2 separate regions of the Homo sapiens genome follow, and region 2 is linked to region 1. Evidence: promoter capture Hi-C in 16 types of primary human blood cells and fetal thymus (Javierre and others, 2016). All regions are on one chromosome and are shown on one strand. Each heading gives the region's core, a stretch centred on a gene start or on the middle of the fragment in contact. The rest is flanking DNA. Distances are from core to core; before and after follow the strand shown. Region 1 holds the start of LHFPL6 (LHFPL tetraspan subfamily member 6). Region 2 has its middle 12 kb from the start of SUPT20H.

Region 1 (4,131 bases), core at 875-3,374:
ACCTCCGGAAGGTACCGAAGGACACAGGCTTGCCCAGCTGTGATCCCCAGAGCCAGTAAGGCATAAAGAACCCCACGCAGGAGGTGGCAGCACAAAGAAAAGACAGCAAAGCCCAGATTACTCCAGTACAAGTCAGGCTGGATGCCATCTTTCACCAGATAGGGCAATGAGGACCCCAAGTAAGTGTTCAGGGACTGCAGGAGTGAATGAAGGTGTGAAATCACCAGGGACCCACAGATAATCCACAGTTCCGTAATGCAGAATGGATCTTCAGTCTTACTGGGCATCAACTTTCCATCCTCTGCACTAAAGATGATGGTCCCTGGTAAAACAACAGGAAACATTAAAAATTAAAGGCATTAAAAGAAGTGATAACACTGTTTCAGCTAGTCTACAATTTTCAATTAATAAACATTGAGACTTGCCTCAACACTTTAAAAGTGGGAAGAACTAATTCTCTCTATGAGCTTCATAACTCGATTTTTGTCAAACCAGCTCAAAGCTTTTTCATGTCTTTATCTTCCGTAAATATTTCCAAATTAACTCTGACAGCTATTTACTTAAAGAAACGCCCGATTTTTATTTGACAGGCCAATGAATTCATTCTATATATTATATACTCACATTAAAAGTAATGTAGCACTTTCACTGGGCAATAAACAATTAAAATAAAATGAACCATGCCATGATTTCCATTTTTTGGCTTGCAAGTTCATGCTCATAGTTTGTTGCAACTTTTCTATGTCCCTTTAAGGGTGCATTAACTCTCTGCATGAGCCAAACAAACTAATTAGGATAATTTTTCACAATTGCAGAGTACCATAAATTTAACAAGCATTATGGTCTGCGGAGGCACCCACAGTACAGAACTATTACCAGACACTCTTTGTACTCATTCAGCAGCATTTCAGAATTTCTTTAGTCTTAACATCTTCTAGTGTAAAAGAATGCCTGTGTATGACTTATTTTGAGTCTGCAGTTTTGATTCATTGATTCCAACAGTTCTATTGCAATCATTTCTCCCACTGAATGATTGTCTAATTTGAACAGCAATCCATACTTCCCAGTATGCTACATCAAACCCCAGTCATCCAAATGGTTCCAGGGGCATCTACTTCCACCCCAGCCTTTCAAAAAGAGTTCCTTAACCATTTCTCACACTTTCCATAAAGAAATGAATACAGAAGCACAGAGCCCATCCACCCTAGAATTCCACCCCCAGGACCCCTAACTCCAGCTTTCAGGGTCCATAGCAAATTTCCCCCTTTCTTCACCTCGCCCCTACCCGTTTTTTTCTCTAACCACCGCCCATTTTCAGTTCTGGATGTCACTCAAACGGGAGGTCGGCTACTACTTTTTTTTCTAATCTTGTCAACTGCAGTCAGGGCTGAAGTTGATCTATCTGGGCCACGAGGCTGGGGAAGACCAGCAGGGGGTGGCCTGCGGGCAGGGGGCCCCCATCTCCAACTGCGGTGAGGCGCCCTCGCCAAGACAAGCCCATATTTAGCCCCCTGCCATTGCCTCACCGAGCCACTCCACCCATGGAGACACACAATGATCCCTCCATTCTAAAAGGGGGCAAGAGGCATTTTCCAGCCGGCTCTGGACGAAGGGAGGGGATAAGGATGGGAAGGCAGCACCCCCCGGAGGCAGACGCCAAGAGCGGACGCGGCTGGCAGGCAGAGCCGACGGATCCGCCGAGCTCAGGAAGTCCGGAGCCCGGGAGCAGCCCAACTCCGGCTCCGGGGCAGAGAGGGAGCCCGGGAGAAAGCAGCGGAGCCCACGCCCACGGGGCAGCCGAGTGATTTACTTACATGGCTGGCGGGCGGCGGCCACCTTCCCTCCCGCGTCCCGGGCGCACACACAACTTGCTGTCTTTCTCGGGCGGGAACATCCACGGGAAACCGGACCGTCCTGCCCTTCTTTGCCTCTGTCCCTAACAGCCGCAGAACCCCGGGGCCCGACCTGGAAGAGCAGGGGTTGGCAGGAGGCGGAGGGTCTCCAGAAGCGGGCTGGCACCAGCGGAGACCCCCACTCCCGGCGAGTCCGCGGCGGCAGCTCTGGCGGAGCGCTGTGGGCGCGCGCGGGCGCCGGGGATCGCACGCAGAGGAGCGGATCTCCCTTTGGCAGGCGAGGCACGCACCGCCTCCTCCCCTCCGCTGCCCGGCCCTCCTCTTTCTCCAGTCCCCTCCCCTCGCGCCCCGGGGAACTCCGCGCAGACAGACCCAGGACGCACCGGGGACGTTCCTGGAGCGCCGGGAAGGGAGTGGGGGGGTGCCCCGCTGTCCGCGCGGGTCCAGGCCCACCCCCGGGGGCAGCTTTCGCGGCTCCTCCCCTAGCCCCGAGCCCCCTCGCGCCCCCTCTCCCTGCGTCTCATTCAAAGCTGAGTGGGGAAGGCAGACAGACCGAGAAGTATGGGAGAAAGTTGCTTGTCTTCCTGGGTGACCCCGAGGAGCCACGGAAGATGACACACTTTGCCTGTTGGGGCTTTTCTGGGTTTACTGTTCGGGTTTATGCTCCTGTTTTCCTGCCGCCGTTAAAAGAAGCCGTAGACGGGAAAGAGGGCCTTAAAGAGTGGGTAAAGTGGCCCCTTTGAGATTTGAGGAGGCTTTTGAGAAGTGGTCACTTTGGAAGGCGGTGAATGAGGCGGTTGTGGACGTGGGAATTAAAGCACAGCAGACAGCCCAAGGCTCATGTATGGCATGGGGGCAGCTGCCTTTCCAGACGAGCCAGGGAGAAGGCAGGGGCGGACCTCTAGCGAGCCTCTCCCAAGAGATACACTCTTTCAAAGGTCTCTCTCTCTCTCTCTTGCTGTTTCTCTGTCTCTCTCTCCCTCCCTCCCTCCCTTTCCCTTCACTTCCTCCCTCCCTTCTCCTCCATCCTGCCTCCTGATCAATTTTGCAATTTATTCCATCGTTTGATTTCTTTTCTGAGAAACAACTGATTTTTAGTTCCCCTCTGGACTTGAGGACTTTTTCCACTTGTCATTAGCACTAACCCCTTTAGAAGTTTAGAGCTAGATTCAGTAGATGACTGTGGGAGTCTCTGCTGAACACAGTATTTTAAGAAGTATGCCATCTGGGAACAGCAGTTTTTGAAGTAGACAGTTTCCCAGATATAGTTTTTGTGAGGTGTCTTTTTAGAGGAGTTGAAAGTAATAAATTGGTAGGTATATATTTCATAGCAGATTTTCAGACTGCACCATTTTAATTAGCCGTGATGGTGTACATTTTTCCCACAACGACAGCTGGAGATATGTGTTCTTTTATTATTATTTTGAAAGACCTTAAGTGATTGATTCCAAGCCTTTTGAGGTCACAGGTCTTTTAAAAAATACGATGAAACTGATAAGCCTTCCAGAAAAAAAAATGCGCGGACATATAAAGCTTTACCACAGCGATTCTGAAGAAGGAAAGGGATATTTGGCAAGGTCTGAAGATAATTTTGATTATCATAACCCATGAATGGGGAGTATTACTGGCATCTAGTTGGTAAAGACCCGAGATTCTGCTAAATACAGTGCACAGGACAGTCCCCAAAATTACCTGGGCCAAAATGTCAATCATTTGAATGAAATATCAGGTGGTTTCCCATTCCCTTAAAGCCCATCCATGAATCCCATATTCAGAATCCCCAATTTAAGTGTTTTTGTTTTTGGTGTTGTTGTTGAGTTTAAGTTGTTTTAACTCTTCTCTTACAAATCACCGGTTACTGGTTTCAGTGACAGCATAAGAATGATTGGTCTGACTTCCAGTTAGGTACCACACCCTTAGTTATTACACAGAGCCTTCATACCTATATAATATGATGGTGGAAGATATGATCATAAAAGACAAAAGAATAATAGTGAGAATCGGAGTCACCTCCGTACAACCTGCAGGGGAAATTGCTCTCAAACACTTTCTTAAGTGTGAGAAAGCTTAAGCGCAAGTGCTGGCTGGAGACATATTAATGATAATCATGGTTACTACAGATTGACTCCTTGCTGTGTGTTAGTACATTAAGGTCCCTTAATAGATTACTTATCCAGTCCTCAAAAAAGAAAAGAAAAATTATGAAGAAGGAATAATTATTATTTTACCGCAAGGATAAGAAGTAATTTGCCCAAAAATTTACAGCTAAAAAATGACT
Region 2 (4,131 bases), core at 456-2,955, 2.5 Mb before region 1:
CACGCTTCACGGAACCAGCGGGAGCCAAGGACAAGCAGGAGCCGCCCCGCAGCCCCTTGGGGGCCGCCGCTATGAGGCCAGGCCAAGTCGCCCAGCCCAGAGGGGGAGTGATGGAGCCACGCGATTGGGCACAGAGGAGTGGGCAGAGAGGCACCCAGCAAGGACCTGGAGCCCCCGCCCCAGGCTGTGAGGAGGCATGGCCCGGGCTGCCTGCACATTCCACAGAGCAGGCAGGAGCCCCACCTTCCCAGGTGCAGGACCCAGGCCGTCTGTGGGATCTGTACCCTTGAGGTCAGGAAGGCCCCCCTGTCCCCACAGGCTCGGGGAAGCCTGCTCCTGCCTGGCCTCTCCCTGTTCCCTGCACTGCTTTGATCTTGGAGCTGGGTTGGGGCCAAGCTCAGGGCAGTGCTGACACGCCAGCCCCCTGCTGCCTAGACCCCCTCCGGACTTTGGGCACTGAGGAGTACAGGGGAAGCCGAGGGGTGGCTGAGAGCAGCTTGGTGCTGGCCTACAGGTGCCCCTTGACTCGAGCATTCTGGGCTCCATGGACAGCTGCAGGAGGCAGACAGGCTGTTAAGAGGGTAGAAGGGGGCAGGTCCCTGGTTAGGCCAGGGAAGGCCTGAAGGCTTGGGGCTGACTGCCCATCCAGTTGATAGGAGTGGGAGGTGGTGGCTTTTCTGGCCACCCGCCATGGCCTCTCATAGACCAATCAGCGGGCACTTCTGAGGCCATAAAAGCCCAGGACTCAGCCAGAGCTGAACAGATGACGGGATGACCAGCTGCAGAGAGGAGCTACCCTCTCTGCTGGTAGCTGGACCATGGGAGGAACAGCTGCAGAGAGGAGCCACTCTCCCTGCCAAGAGTGAACACTTGTTGGGACGACTTGCCTGCAGAGAGGAGCTACCAGCTCTCAGTTAGGAGCTGAACACTTGACGGGACATCCTGGCTGAGGAAAGGAGCTGCCCCTTGTGGGAGACTGAGCTGTTCTATCGCTCAATAAAGCTCTTCATCATCTTGCTCACCCTTCACTTGCATGCGTACCTCATTCTTCCTGGTCACAAGACAAGAACTTGGGACCCACTAAATGGCAAGGCTAAGAGAACTGTAATACAAACAGGGCTGAAACATGCCCCTTGCTCCCCACGTTACAGGCAGAGAGAAGGAGAGCTGTGGCCCTTTGGGGAGTCTAGACCTGGGAGCTCCCTGAGCCAGGGCTGTGACTCCTTCTTTGAGGCCCTGTGGTTCCTGGCATCTCCAAGCTTCCAGGCACCACTGCTTTCCCTGGTGCCAGCCAGGGAAGCTCCTTGTGGTGCGCCCTGTCCAGCTGCAGCCTCACTGAGAGCCGGCGCCTATGCTGGCATCTGGAGCTGCCCGCCCCATGGCAGCAGCTGCATGTCTGACTGCGCAGTGGCCAGACCCCGTGCTCACACACACAACTCTTGCTGCTCCATGCTTGACTCACTGTCTCCCTTGGAGGTGTGGGATCCAGGCCAGTAGCATGAGCTGAGTACAGCCTGCTAGGCCAAGTGGGCAGAACGAGCCCAGTGGGCTGAGCAAAACTTGGGCAAGGCCTCCACCAGCCACAGGTTTCCAGCCAGGAGAAGGACACCTCAAAGATCCCATAACATTACCAAACTTGAAAGAGATTTCCCTAATCAAAATTATTAATTTATTGATAATTAGCAGAAAGATAATAGCTGAATCCAAGGAAAAGAAGAAGGTGGGTAGGCTATAAAGGCAAGAGAGCCCTTATATAATAAAGGCAACAGAACTTACAAAGATGCCTGATAAATGTCAGGTGCATTGCTAATTCCCTTGTTTCGACAAGGGAAGATTTGGGGCTTGAAAAAATACCTGGAGTTGCTGGTGTTTTAGTGAATATTCAATTTATTAAAATTATGAGTTTATAAATTTAGATTTCTTAAGACTTTAATCTCAAAATGCTAATTTTATTATAAATTCAGAAACTTATTTCAATTAAAAAGTCTCTTTTTCTTAACACCTCAGGGGATTCTTAAGTGCCCTGGAGTGTGAGAATCATTGTTCTGTAATGTATAATAATTTTCAGCCTTTTTTTTTTAAATAAGTAAGGTTTCTAAATTCCAATTAATGAATCTCTATTGACTTGTTTTCTCAGTGAGGCTGTCAAAGGGAAGCTTGATAGCTTTGGCATGAAATTCCATAGCATGTGTGGTTCTCATTGACATATGCTAAACCTGTTTCCTCCAGCCAGCAGTGGTTTCAGGGGAGTGTGTCTGACTTTTTCCTGAGGGTGACCCTGATAAAGAAAGAGAGAAAAAGAAAAGAATAATAAAGCAGGCATTGAAAGCAGAGAAACGTAGTGGTCCCCACTGTAGAATTTGATTCATTTCTTGCCCCTTTCTTCCTTTATCCAGGCAAACTTATTGAACAGGCATTCGTATAACTGGGCCACTGCCTGCAGAACATCGCCAGGATTTGCTCTGATTCACGTTTGCATCTATTAAAACATAACCTTTGGCACATTAAAAACTAAGAGTTTATTTGAGCAGACTGTGACCATGAAACAGGCAGGGAATGGCTAGGGGCTCACACAGAAATAGAGGCTCCTGGAAGAGGTTGAAGGAAAAACTTTTATAAGGTGAATGTGAAAGCAAAGAAATTATTTGTCTGGTTAAAGTTTGAGCAATTGCCTTATTTGGACTATTTCAGTGAAAGATTCAAGACAATATAAATAATGCCCAATTGGCCATTTGTGATTTGCTGAGATAAAGTTTAAAATTCCGTTAGGTTTCAGTTTGCTTATGTAGGAATCCAGGGTGTCAGAGCCACTTCAGTCTAATGGCCTCCCATTTAGTTATTTTAACACATCTCTAATGCCTACTCCAATCTTGGTGCTCAATATTCATTCATTAATAACTATTTCCTGAGAGCCTCTAATATACTAGGTATGCTTCTAACTGCTGGGAACATTAGCAGTGTCCAAAGGGATAAACATGTAGGCCCTCAGAGAGATACTTCCTAGAGGGAGAAATGAATAAATGAGAACACATAGTACATTATGTGTCTGTGTCCTTCAGGAAAAGGCCGCCAGCCACACACCTGTGGTTGAATAACTAGGGTTTGTTATTTTTTGCAGAGAGGGACAACAGTCACCATAGGGACTCATAGGGGGCTCAGAAAAAGAATGTAATCTATTATAGGATTTGGGCTTTAGCTGGCAACTTGGGGCAGGTTCTCAAAGAGTAGAGCTTTGCTCTGGATTTAAAGTTGTCAGGAAGTAGGGGAAATTCTGATTTGGTATCTTAATAAATCTTATGTGTAGAGAGGACAGACTAGATTGAGGCTAAAGTTGTACTTGGTAAAGAAGCAGCAGTCATTAATTTTAGCCAAAAGAAAAGAGGTGTTTGGTAATTTGTGGGTTGCACAGTGGCCTTGTTTTTATCTCACTTTATCAAAATCTGAGAGTGTCCTTGTCTGTTGTTGATGGTCTATGAAATTGTTTATGTACAGCAGGAGAATGGGGCCAAGCTGTGAGCATCAGGCCAATTGCCTGATGGCAGGGGCTTTCTCTTTATCAGATGATAATAAGTGCCATGAAGAAGAAAAAGAAAGCAGGGAAAGGCATATAGGGAGTGCTGGATGGAGAGAGGCAGGAATGATGTCGACTTAAAAACAGTTAGTGAAGGCTAATTAACCTGTAAGCAAAAAAAATCTGAAGGAGGTGAGAGAGGGGTCAACAAGTGAAACGATGGGGAGAGCAGCAGGAGAGATGGGAGAAACCACATTCAGAAACAGTGAGGAGACCAGTGGGTTCAACAGTGAGTTAACAAAGGTGAAATAAATACTTCTAAGGACTTCACGAACAGCTGCCGATGCCCAGATGTCTGGTTGCCCAAGGTGTTATCTGAGACTGAAGAAACAGACTTTCCCCCTTCATTCCCTGAAACTCCCACTCCCTTACCCTTTGGCTGCATAAAAACTCCCTGCTTCTGCTTCTTCCTTTTTTTTTGAGATAGAGTTTCACTCTTTTGCCTAGGCTGGAGTGAAGTGCTCTGGGCTCACTGCAACCTCTGCCCCCCAGGTTCAAGCGATTCTCCTGCCTCAGCCTCCTGAGTAGCTGGGATTACAGCTGCCCGCCACCACACCTGG

Evidence for each region. The method cuts DNA at HindIII sites, captures the fragments that hold promoters and counts their contacts. A CHiCAGO score of 5 or more calls a contact.
Region 2: a contact is called between a fragment that was not itself captured here and the fragment with the promoter of LHFPL6 in region 1, in 1 of 17 cell types (total CD8 T cells). The highest score is 5.2, in total CD8 T cells.

Annotation. Positions count from the first base shown.
Region 1 is chr13:39,601,069-39,605,199 of GRCh38, forward strand. LHFPL6 (LHFPL tetraspan subfamily member 6) reads right to left here and starts at 2,125. Exons shown (of 4, transcript NM_005780.3): 1 at 1,815-2,125; 2 at 1-322. The coding sequence starts at 148. It overlaps LOC112268119 (protein SPT2 homolog), which reads left to right and starts at 256. Exons shown (of 4, transcript XM_035861111.2): 1 at 256-325; 2 at 1,382-1,472; 3 at 1,576-2,574. The coding sequence starts at 256. RefSeq lists a silencer at 2,020-2,319. The HindIII fragment of the contact is 2,884 bases long and covers 501-3,384 here.
Region 2 is chr13:37,069,733-37,073,863 of GRCh38, forward strand. No RefSeq gene overlaps it. Among named protein-coding and RNA genes, the nearest start is that of SUPT20H, 12 kb to the left of the region's middle. The HindIII fragment of the contact is 897 bases long and covers 1,258-2,154 here.